4 separate regions of the Homo sapiens genome follow, and regions 1, 3 and 4 are each linked to region 2. The links are contacts of gene promoters, found by promoter capture Hi-C in blood cells and fetal thymus (Javierre and others, 2016). All regions are on one chromosome and are shown on one strand. Each heading gives the region's core, a stretch centred on a gene start or on the middle of the fragment in contact. The rest is flanking DNA. Distances are from core to core; before and after follow the strand shown. Region 1 has its middle 9.9 kb from the start of DAPP1. Region 2 holds the start of C4orf17 (chromosome 4 open reading frame 17). Region 3 overlaps LAMTOR3 (late endosomal/lysosomal adaptor, MAPK and MTOR activator 3). Region 4 overlaps DAPP1 (dual adaptor of phosphotyrosine and 3-phosphoinositides 1).

Region 1 (2,700 bases), core at 25-2,524, 300 kb before region 2:
TACTAAACCATTAAATGATTCAGGTATAATTTATTACCTGTCTCACCAAGTTTTAAATGGTTCAATTCTTAGTTCTGCTCTCTTTTCCCTTTAAAGCTTTGAGACCTTTACTGAAAGAATTTAAATGAGTAGGAAGTGATTGAAATCTAAAAATTCAATTTTATACCTAAAAATGATTTTCATTTCTGCAATTGCAATATATTTTAAGCACTTACTTTTTCCTCAGCTCATTTGGTAAATATAAATCTTCAAAGCATTTCAATTTTCATTTAAAATAAGGAATGTAGGTGACTCTAAAACTGCTAACGTAGAGCCCTGTCACAGTAACGGTGACTGGAAATAGTGAAAATTCTTCAGGGTTCTCAGCGTTACAGTGAAGGCAGCTTGGGAACAGCTCCCCGATTACAGAGACAGTGACTCAGCCACAGCAACAACTTTGAAGTAGATTTTGTCACTGTTCCTGGGTGGCCCATGGGTCTGAGTTTTCTCTGTTAATCATATAAATATGAGATCTTTGGTATTTTAAATATTTTAAGGGTGGTAAAGAGAAGTTTCTCTTAACATGTAAATGTTTTTGTTCTGTCTATCTAAAGGAGACATTATAGAGATGATTTTTTTTGAGATGGGGGTCTCACTGTGTTGTCCAGGTTGGTGTTGAACTCCTGGCCTTAAGTGATCCTCCTGCCTCAGTCTCTCAAAGTGCTGGGATTACAGGCATCCGTCATTGTGCCCAGACACAAAGTGAATTTTATCCAGAAGGTTAGGTGGGGGATGGAAGCAGGAGGAAGAGCAAAATTATGAGGAACTATGAGTGGTTAAAAAAAAAATGTGAAGAGAGCAGGAGAACTATAAAAGAGAGTACTGACAGGATGGTGTGATAGGTGACTGAACCAGTAATCCACCCGAAGCAAAAAGGATAAACCTGGCCCTGAAGGGGGCCACATCAGAGCAAAAATAAAGGCTTCAGAAGACCCTGGAGGGTGGGGAGCATGGAGGTGACACACTGGAAGCTGAAAGCTAAGGGCTGCAGCAGGGCTTCTCCCAGGACAGGCTGTGCACCACCAGCCTCAAAATCCCCAAGGCACAGGGCCCTGGGGCCTGCATCTTGGACAGTTGCCCCAGGTGATTCTGATGTTCGGCAAAGGTTGAAGAGCACCCGAGTCTGTGGAAGAGCCTGCAGACCAAAAGTAATGTGGTGACGGGTCTGTGGGCTCCTGGGGCAATAACGAGTGCCATAAGCCTGTGCCAAGAAAAGATGGTACCTTGTGACCTAATAAGCTATCCACGTTTGTGTCAGTCAACACCCATCACAAAAGAAGCCTGTCATTCCTTGGACCATCTGTGTGTGCTCACGAGCAATGGGCTGTGTAAGGAGAAAAAGAAGGACTTCCAAAACCAAGAAAGGTTTTCGGGCTTGGAGGTATCAACTAAGTAACCTCAAACTCTTTTGTCTCAGTAACTCTTGGCTGCAGCTCAGCTGAGACTCAGCTATGCTGGCATCAGGAGTTGGCGGCTCCCTGTGGAGATCCTCCAAGTGCTCTCAGCAAACAAGGCCTTCTTAGGGTAATAGGTTGCTCGATGACACTGATGATCCAGATGACCAGAGGTCCCATGGTGGGGGACTTAACTTGATCCAGGCTTAGGATACAAACCAGTCTGACAGACAAGGGCAAATAGGAAAGGGATGGAGCTGGACTTCTGGGAGTAAAAAAGGGAGTCCCTGGGAGGAAGAATCCTTATAGGTGAGGATTCACGGCTTCAGGGCCAAGGGCAGGCAGGTCTTGGTGGTTGTTCTTGGCCTTAACTCAACCTAATCTTGCCTACTCTCTAGCAAGATTTTGTGTCCTGGAAGGAAAGGGCATGATGATGCTCAGTAGTGTTATTGCTTCCTAAGTGATCCAAGTCACCTCAGCCTGTTGGGTTGAGGGAATCCAAGTCCCCTAACCCTTTCCTTTAATTAATGAAAAGAATATCCCCTCCAGGCTTCCCTATCTCACATGCTGTGGCCAATCCAGTGATCTGACAATCCAGTGAGATTTCCATGAATTCTGGGGGCTTACAATATCATAGTTTCTGTTCCTCTTACTTCCTGCTTCCATTGACATCTAAGCCACTGAGCCAGTCAGCCAGCGTGCCTTGTGAGGTTGTTCTCTTCTCTCTGTACCACCTGACCAAACAGTAGACATGGTGCCTCTAAGTGCAGCTGTCTTGTCAAACGGTCAAGGATAGCAGACTTGACTAAAGTTTTGCTTAGAGAAATGGAGGAAAGTTTGCATTATAACACAGCTTACATAAAAACTTAACATTAAATAGCAGACATAGCCAAGCATGGTGGCTTATGCCTGCAATCCTAGCAGTTTGGGAGCCCAACGTGGGAGGATTGCTTGAAGCAAGGAATTCAAGACCAGCCTGAGCAAAATAGCAAAGACAGCCTGCCTCTAGAAAAAGCTTTAAAAAATTAGCCAGGTATGGTGGCACATGCCTATAGTTCCTGCTGCTCAGTGGCTGAGGCAGTAGGATCATGTTAGCCAAGGAGTTTGAGGCTGCAGTGAGCTACGGTTGCACCATTGCACTCCAGCCTGAATGACAGAGTGAGATCCTGTCTCTAAAAGAATCTAAAAAGAAATAAATCAATGGCAGACTCTGAGCTGAATCTCTTCAATTCCGCCACAGAGCACTCACTACTTGGTGACCAGCTTT
Region 2 (2,700 bases), core at 176-2,675:
TTGTTGTTTGCAATATTGAGTAACAGTTAACATTTTTAGACACCTATGGTGTCATAGACCTGGGAGATTAAAGATAATGTTATGTATCTTGGTGAATTCACAACCATGTGAGAAAGAACATTTCTGGATTAAGAACATAGAAAGTCGTTATTTAAATTTTCTTGAAAATAGTATGCTTTTGAAATCTAAGAAGGATGATTTTCTGGTGCTTGTTGTATTTTTTCTATCTTACATGAAAATCTTATTCATCGTAGCAGAATTGGGAAATACACATTTTATTTATAACCATGGCAGAGACTTTTTGGGTTAGAATAATTTGCAGTGTCAAAAAATGTTCATGTTCTAGAAATTGATCTCAGGATTTTGTTGGGATGGATGCTTTTAGATCGTTGACTACCTTTTTAGAACAAAGCAATCTATGTTTAAGTGTTTCATGCTATATACTTAGACTGTATGGTGTATAAATTCCCAGACTTGTTGCCACAGAATATCTGGTTTTCAGGAACTTCAGTTTGATATATATAAATACTAAAATTATCCTAGGTTGGGTAAAATATATGTAGACATTAAATGCAGAAAATATCTATCTAGCAATAAAAAGTATATTTTCTTATTGCTGTTTATGAATATCACAGTGAGGAGCTAGTTCTAATCTCTTTGTTTAAATCACACTTTAGACTTACTCATTCTTTTGGTGTGGGACCTTTTGTACAATTAAGCCAGTAAATTTGCTTTTTACTTGTATTGAGGGGAAAAGAGTACAGCAGACAATTTGGAGAGTGAAAAAGACATTAAACCAGAAATTTAAAGATAGGATTCATGGTCCCAGATTTGCCATTAACCAGCAAAGTGACCACAGATTAATTGTTTTATTGCCTAGATTTCAGTCTGTTTGTCTATTACCTGATGAAATTGACTTAAATGTTAGCTGATATTATTCAGTTATTCTGTATGTGTCTGTCCCACATCAATTCTCTTAGATTAAAGGGTAGTGATACACTTTAAATTTTGAAAAAAAAAAAGTCAACAAGAAAACAATGTGTATTTCATTTTCTTAAAACAGACTTATTTGGCTTTCACATACTCTTGAAAAAAGAATGAACTTGAGGACTATTAACTAAATCATACCTAAAATTTTAGAACATTATTGTAATGATGAATTTAAAATTATACCTGAGGACAATATTAAAAGCAGGTGATCTTGCTGACAAGAACTCAAGTCTGTTGATACCCTCCCAGCCTCATAATATGTCTAGACTGAGTTTTTGTTGATCTCCTTAAATCTCTGCACTTAAGCTAGAAGTTTTTAGTTGGTAGAGACAGACCAATCTCGAACGCTTCCAAAAGAATACAGCTGTCTTCATCCAGTTTCTCACACTCTTACTCCAAGGAGCCTGTGTGGCTCCCTGGTTGTTAAGATATGTTACATAGCTTAGCAACGTGGTAACATTCCTTAGAAAAATCTAAGTTCTAGAACCTCTCACCCACTATTCTTCTCAGACCTCCAGTTACCCACTTGACAAAACCATGTGGCCACAAATGGCTTTCCTCAATTTTGGACATATAATAGAGTTAAATCCAATGCAAGAGAAAGAAAAAGAAGAAAAATAAAACAGAGAGCAATATAAATCAAATTTATAATTTTTCCCACAATTCTGCTTAAAGAACAATTATGATATAACCAAATATAGCTTAATCCAAAACCAACGGGGAGAAGGTATACATGCTTTTAAGGAGTTTCTAATAGTTGTGAATGGAATATACTGCTTTGGTAGTCAGGATGTCTGTGCTGATGACATGTTCAATAGCCATGAAAAAATATTGAAATGTTAATTAGAAGTCATAGAGAAACACACACACATGTACATGCGGTGCTTCACAAGACTTTTCAGAATACACATGATTTTGAATTTCTGAATTACAATCTCTAAGAGCAATATAGACAATTTCTGAAAGGCAAATACTAGCTTAAAACAATGCAAGGATAGAGCCTAATTTGTCTGTTTTCTTGACTGGCCCAAGAATTAAAGGTTTAATTGCCTTTGCCTATAACCCATTCTTATGCCTTATGCCTCCCTGTTTTACTGTAGTTTATGGGGAATTTTATGGGAGATCTAATTGACTTTCTAAGGTAATTTTTGTATTCTGAGATTTTTAGTTTTCACTTTGTATCAGTTGAGAAACTTTATTACACAGCTAATAACAGAGATCAGAAATAGTGTTCTAAGTAAGATAGATGTGTATTTCTTCCTCACATGGAAGAGTTCAACCATCTAGGGTTGGTATGGAAGCTTTATGAAGCATCATTATGGACCTTGGCTTCATCTATGTTTTAGGTCCATCTTTCTTAATATTAGGCTTCCATTTTTGAAATTATCCCTTGTTCAAGATGGTTCCTGAAGTTCCAGTCATCCAAGATGGCTGCTATATTTGCACATATCAAATCTGTACTCCAAGCAGGAAACAAGAGGAAGGTTGGGGAGGTAAGGGCTGACAAGGGCACATGCTAGCTATCTGCTCTCTTTGTAAGAGCCTTCTCATGAGTCTCAGACAATAATCTATGTTGCATTGATGATTTATAGCTACAAGAAAGGATAGAAAATGTAGTTTCTTAACAGGGCACATTGACACCCCATTCTAAAACAGGGGCTCTAACAAGAGAGGGAGAAAGTATAAATCGGGTTATAAAAAGCAATCTCA
Region 3 (2,700 bases), core at 130-2,629, 380 kb before region 2:
CTCTGTGTATCTAGAGCGATAGTGTCAGCATTCCCTTGGTCATCTGTTTCTTCTATAATTCTTTACTTTCTATTTGAAATTCAGCATTTCTATTTGAAATTTCAGCATTATTACTTTTCATTTCTTTGCTGTATTTCGTCTTTGTTGGCCAGTTTCCTCTTTTTATTATCTCTTTTTCTAAATGTCACATACTTTATCATTGGGAGACAAGGAGGTACAAAACTACATGCTTTGCTATCTCTGCATGAGCTGCATAACAGATGCACAGTGACCAACCATCAACATACTTTGAAAGAAATGATGTGGCTGGTTACTGATGACAGTGTGCATCTGTTAATTACATAATTATTTATGTAGTGATTTGTGGACTAAAGAGTTAGAAAAGTTTATACTTTACGTAGTTATTGAGGTATTATGCCATGCTAACTAAAATTTGACCTGTGCTCTTCTGCAGGGAGTGGTATTACTTAACCATAGTAACTAAAATGTGCATATTGGAACTATGCAAAATGAGGGCTTTCTGTGTTTTTCTGTAGTTACCTTAGCGTAATGAAAGGGCGCTCAAATTGGGACGGAGAGATACCCCACTACGCTGGTGATATGATGAAATAGTTAATAGTACATAGTTAATTCACTTAGAAGTCTTAGTGATTTACAGTCCTCTTTTGAGTGTTAGCATCTCTTATTGAAGAAACAGCAAAATTGCATTCAATGTTCTTAAGTTATAAACCGACCAGAAAGATACTCATTAGTCACCTGGAGATCTAATAAAGCAATAATTGATTCTAATTACATCATCTGTGATTATAAGCAATAAAAATGTTTCAGACAATGGGGATCTCATTTTAACTATTAAGTGTGCTCTCAAAATCATAATAGCGTGTGACACTGGATATGATGAAGCTGTCTGTGTAAAGGAATTAGAGAATAATACCAAAAGTATTTATTATATTACTGAGTAGTTCTAATGTTGATCAAAAATAGTTGGAAAGTAAATGCTTGCTTCTTCTTTGAATTTAGATGTCTCTTATCTTTTAACAAAAGGGGAAATATCAGGTTGTTGTGCTTATCCAAGAAATAAATTCAGTTAAAGGATATTTGTTAAAAGCTTTATGAAAATCTTTCATAATGGCAGGAAAGGTATTAGTACTGTCAGTTTTTTTTTTAATAATGAAAAAAAGCCAGTTCAACTCATTATATCATTTATTGAAAATAGGCTTATTGCATCCCAGAACAGTAATAATGAAGAAATAATAATGTTTTGAACATTTATGAAGAATAGTAGAATATACGCTTTGATTTGTTGCTAGATGTATGGGTTTGGATGCAGGCATCCTGCTTCAGAGCCATGGATTCATGCTTTTAACTGTTGTACCTCAGTGCCTCTCAGTAACAAAGTCAGCCAGCTACGGATACTAATGGAATGTGTGTTTTTGTGCGTTTTTTGAATTCTCTGCAAAATATCGTTCTTGTATTTGCAATTTAAAATCTGGTTGTGACCCAAAGCAGTCTCAGGCTTTAATAATCCCACTTTGTATGTTTTAAAACAACCAAATATTTCATAATTATGTGTATAAAACTAAATCCGATGTCTTTGATTAGTAATGCAACATTTGTTTTTAGAAAAAAATGGTTGTTTTAGTAAGCTTAAGGTTTAGATTTCTTCAGAATATTTCACAAAATTTAATTCATTTCTTCTAAAAGTGTAGTATCTCTTAATGAGCCAGTTATTTTTAATTATTAGTAAATTCTATTTATATTACTCTTTGCGCATTGTATGTAGAATTGAAAACAGCTTTTATATTTGTGACCTGATTTCTAAAATTATATACTTAAGAGTGTAAGTAATTTTTCTACTTTCTTGATTCATTTCTCTGTGAAGTCCATCAAAAAGAAAGTCCTTTTATTTTCTTTGGAGCATTAGTTGTATTTAAAGTAATTTCCATGGAAATTTAAAAAAAGAAGCTACCTGTGGTGGCACTAATTTTTCTAAACATTTTTGTGGTCCTCTTTTTACCTGCTTTTTAATTTATTTTGGGGGTAAGTAGTACATTCACAGAGTTCAGATTCAAGACTTAACTGAAGAACATAGAGTGAGAAGCTGCCCATCCTTCCTCTCCAGCCACATGCACAGTTTCCCCTCAAAGAGGCACCCACCATTACCTACAGAGATATTTTATGTACCTATGAGCAGACATGTATATACACGTATTTATACACACAACATACACATATGCCTGCATATTTTGGTACATAATTTATTGCTTCTTCTATACACTGTTCTAAACTGTGTATTTTTTCACTTAAGAATGTAACTTTGAGAGTAATCTTTCCTGGTACATAGAGAACTTCCTCTTTCTCATGGCTGCAGAGTATTCCAGAGTATTCCTTTGTAGGTGTATATCATAACTTACCTTGTCCTTCTTGATGGACAGTTGGATTTGTAATGCTTTACTGTTTCAAATGATGTTGCTTTTGGTAACTGCACAAAATAATTGGCTTATGTACAAATATCTGTAGTATATGTTTTATATAACCTAGTTTTTAACTTAGAAGAATATATTTATTTTATGTATTAATCTTTTTGTTGTTGTTGTTGAGACAGACTCTCGTTCTGTCACCCAGGCTGGGAGTGCAGTGGCGCAATCTTGGCTCACTGCAACCCAGGTTCAATCGATTCTTATGCCTCAGTCTCCCAAG
Region 4 (2,700 bases), core at 187-2,686, 320 kb before region 2:
ACCCCCTGGCAAGTAGCAACCTCAGTTTTCTCATCCATCAAGGTGACTAGTAAGAATGCCTAGGAAAAAAACTTTCTTTTTTTTTTTGAGACGGAGTTTCACTCTTGTCACCCAGGCTGGAGTGCAATGGTGTGATCTCGGCTCACTGCAACCTCCACCTCCCGGGTTCAAGCAATTCTCCTGCCTCAGCCTTCTGAGTAGGTGGGACTACAGGTGTGCACCACCACACCTGGCAAATTTTTGTATTTTTAATAGAGACAGGGTTTCACCATATTGGCCAGGCTGGTCTCAAACTCCTGACCTCAGGTGATCTGCCAACCTCAGCCTCCCAAAGTGTTGGGATTGCAGGCATGAGTCACTGCGCCTGGCCAGAGAACCTTCTTATTTTCATGTATTGGAAAAATTTTCTTCTTTTATAAATTTTTTATGCAATTCTTTAACTTTTACAGAAAAAAAACTAGATTTGCTAAATTAAACAATGTATTATGGATATGCTAGACATTTGCAAAGTGGTAGGAACACACTGTTATGCAGTTGGGAATAGGTTCATTTTTTGAAACTTAAAAAAAAAATTCTTCTAGTCTCATTTTCCCTGAAGAAGCAAAAAAGAGCAAGAAACTCCTATTAGAAAGAATGTTAATAGTCTCCATTTTCCCCAAGGCCCACACATTGCCATAATTATGTCTCAAGTCTGATAAAGTCAACAGAGAAAAGACTAATCAAGCTCCAAAAGAATATTTGTACTGGGTTTATAAGATTATGAAAACCAGCAATTCAACTTGAAGGAAACAGTGATATTATCCTTTCCATGATACAGTAAAAAACTAGGAAACACCACCCACTAAAGAATTTTCATAGCTGCCTCTTAGTAAGATACAGAAAATAAACTCAGCCACAGAGAATGTGGACAGGCTGGATCCAGAAAGCTGGTCCTCGGTTCAGCTTCCTTTCCTTTCATTCTGGGGCCTCTTTGAGCTAGAATCTTCTGGAAAATTGCTCCAGAATAGTGGAACCTTCATAGTTTCTTATCCCACTGGGTTTTACTGTTTTAATTTACTAATCTAACTTTATACCTCATTTGTTCTGTTCTTTAAAGGAGAGGCTTTTAAATTTTTTGAATTGACTCACAGTACAAAATACATTTTATATCACTCTGTATATATATAAACATACATATGTCACAAAGACGCACAAAAAACAAAAAGTTACAGGACGTAACACCTATCTTTCTATAGGCTATTAACTTGAATATATTGTTTTCTCTTTATTTTGAATGAATATTGATGTGACCCATTAAATTCACTTTAAGCCTACTAACGGGTTGTACCTGATGTTTAAACCACAGTGCAAAGCTTTGCTACTTAAAGTATGGACCAACAGCATCAGCATCACCTGGGATCTTGTCAGAAATGCACAACAACAGTGTTTGAATAATTTCTAAACTCTATAGTACTCTTATCCAATCTTTGCCTACATATTGCTAATGATGGGGAACTCAGTACTTGTATAGGCAAGCTTAATCCATATGTTCATGATTCATGGTTAGAAAACTCTTGGGCTACAATGAATTGCCATTTTTTGCTGTGTAGATGGCTTTCAGCAGATGGTTTCAGAGCTACTTCTTGGAGTTACATAGATGATACTTATAGAAAGAGTTGAAAGCATTTAGAATGCACCTTCTTCTCTTTCCATCATCTTCAGCTTTTCCTTTTATGACAGGCTTTCAGTTCCTTTATCATCCAGGGACCTTATCACCCAAAGAACTCATCTCATCTGAAAACCTTTCAAACTTAAAAAATCTGTCTTAACGTTAAACTCTGACCTGCAAAACAAAGCAGCACAGGAGCTCCCTTATTCTGGCTGCTGGGCACACATAAGGCAGCCCGAGAATGCATTAGTTTCTTCACAATTGCATCACATAGCTGATTCACACTGGACTTACTGTTGATTAAAACTTCCAATTAGGTCATTTCCTTCATCTGCACTTATAAGTGTGATGGTGTTTTTTGTTTTGTTTTTTTGTTGTTTTTTTTTTGAGACGTAGTCTGACTCTGTTGCCCAGGCTGGAGTGCAGTGGCTCGATCTCGGCTCACTGCAAGCTCTGCCTCCCGGGTTCACGCCATTCTCCTGCCTCAGCCTCCCGAGTAGCTGGGACTACAAGTGCCCACCACCACACCTGGCTAATTTTTGTATTTTTAGTAGAGACGGGGTTTCACCTTGTTAGCCAGGATGGTCTCGATCTCCTGACCTCGTGATCCGCCCGCCTCAGCCTCCCAAAGTGCTGAGATTACAGACCGCGCCCAGCCAAGAGTGATGGTTTTAAAATCAGGTGCAATAAGAAACTTTTTACTACTGGGAAGTGTCAAGTGAAAAGAGTTGCTAATGAGCAGCCAACATGGACCACACACAACCTCAGGCCCCTCCCTCAACCTGCTAAGTCCCACGTGATTGTTATGCACTTTAGAGTTTGAGGAGCATGTATGGGAAGGACTCTTGGGCCTGAAAACTTTAATTCACTTCAATAATGTGAACAGTTTGAGTTCACAGAATTTGGCATTTGAAGAGAAGGGCAAAGCAAAGTACTAAGTGACTTTTCAGTACCAACAGAATGGAAAAGAGAAGGATCTGCAGGTTAACATAGAAGAATCACCAAATAGCTGCTATCTTAGTGATATGGACAGTAAATATTATAGCATAGGA

The links. The method cuts DNA at HindIII sites, captures the fragments that hold promoters and counts their contacts. A CHiCAGO score of 5 or more calls a contact.
Region 1: a contact is called between a fragment that was not itself captured here and the fragment with the promoter of C4orf17 in region 2, in 1 of 17 cell types (endothelial precursors). The highest score is 5.4, in endothelial precursors.
Region 3: a contact is called between a fragment that was not itself captured here and the fragment with the promoter of C4orf17 in region 2, in 1 of 17 cell types (activated CD4 T cells). The highest score is 5.4, in activated CD4 T cells.
Region 4: a contact is called between a fragment that was not itself captured here and the fragment with the promoter of C4orf17 in region 2, in 1 of 17 cell types (endothelial precursors). The highest score is 5.8, in endothelial precursors.

The regions. Positions count from the first base shown.
Region 1 is chr4:99,805,583-99,808,282 of GRCh38, reverse strand. No RefSeq gene overlaps it. Among named protein-coding and RNA genes, the nearest start is that of DAPP1, 9.9 kb to the left of the region's middle. The HindIII fragment of the contact is 2,352 bases long and covers 99-2,450 here.
Region 2 is chr4:99,509,746-99,512,445 of GRCh38, reverse strand. It overlaps C4orf17 (chromosome 4 open reading frame 17), which reads right to left and starts at 1,425. Exons shown (of 9, transcript NM_032149.3): 1 at 1,174-1,425. The HindIII fragment of the contact is 4,126 bases long and covers 1-2,293 here.
Region 3 is chr4:99,889,095-99,891,794 of GRCh38, reverse strand. The region is part of intron 3 of LAMTOR3 (late endosomal/lysosomal adaptor, MAPK and MTOR activator 3); the gene reads left to right. Among named protein-coding and RNA genes, the nearest start is that of LAMTOR3, 4.0 kb to the left of the region's middle. The HindIII fragment of the contact is 538 bases long and covers 1,111-1,648 here.
Region 4 is chr4:99,826,868-99,829,567 of GRCh38, reverse strand. The region is part of intron 1 of DAPP1 (dual adaptor of phosphotyrosine and 3-phosphoinositides 1); the gene reads right to left. Among named protein-coding and RNA genes, the nearest start is that of DAPP1, 11 kb to the right of the region's middle. The HindIII fragment of the contact is 163 bases long and covers 1,355-1,517 here.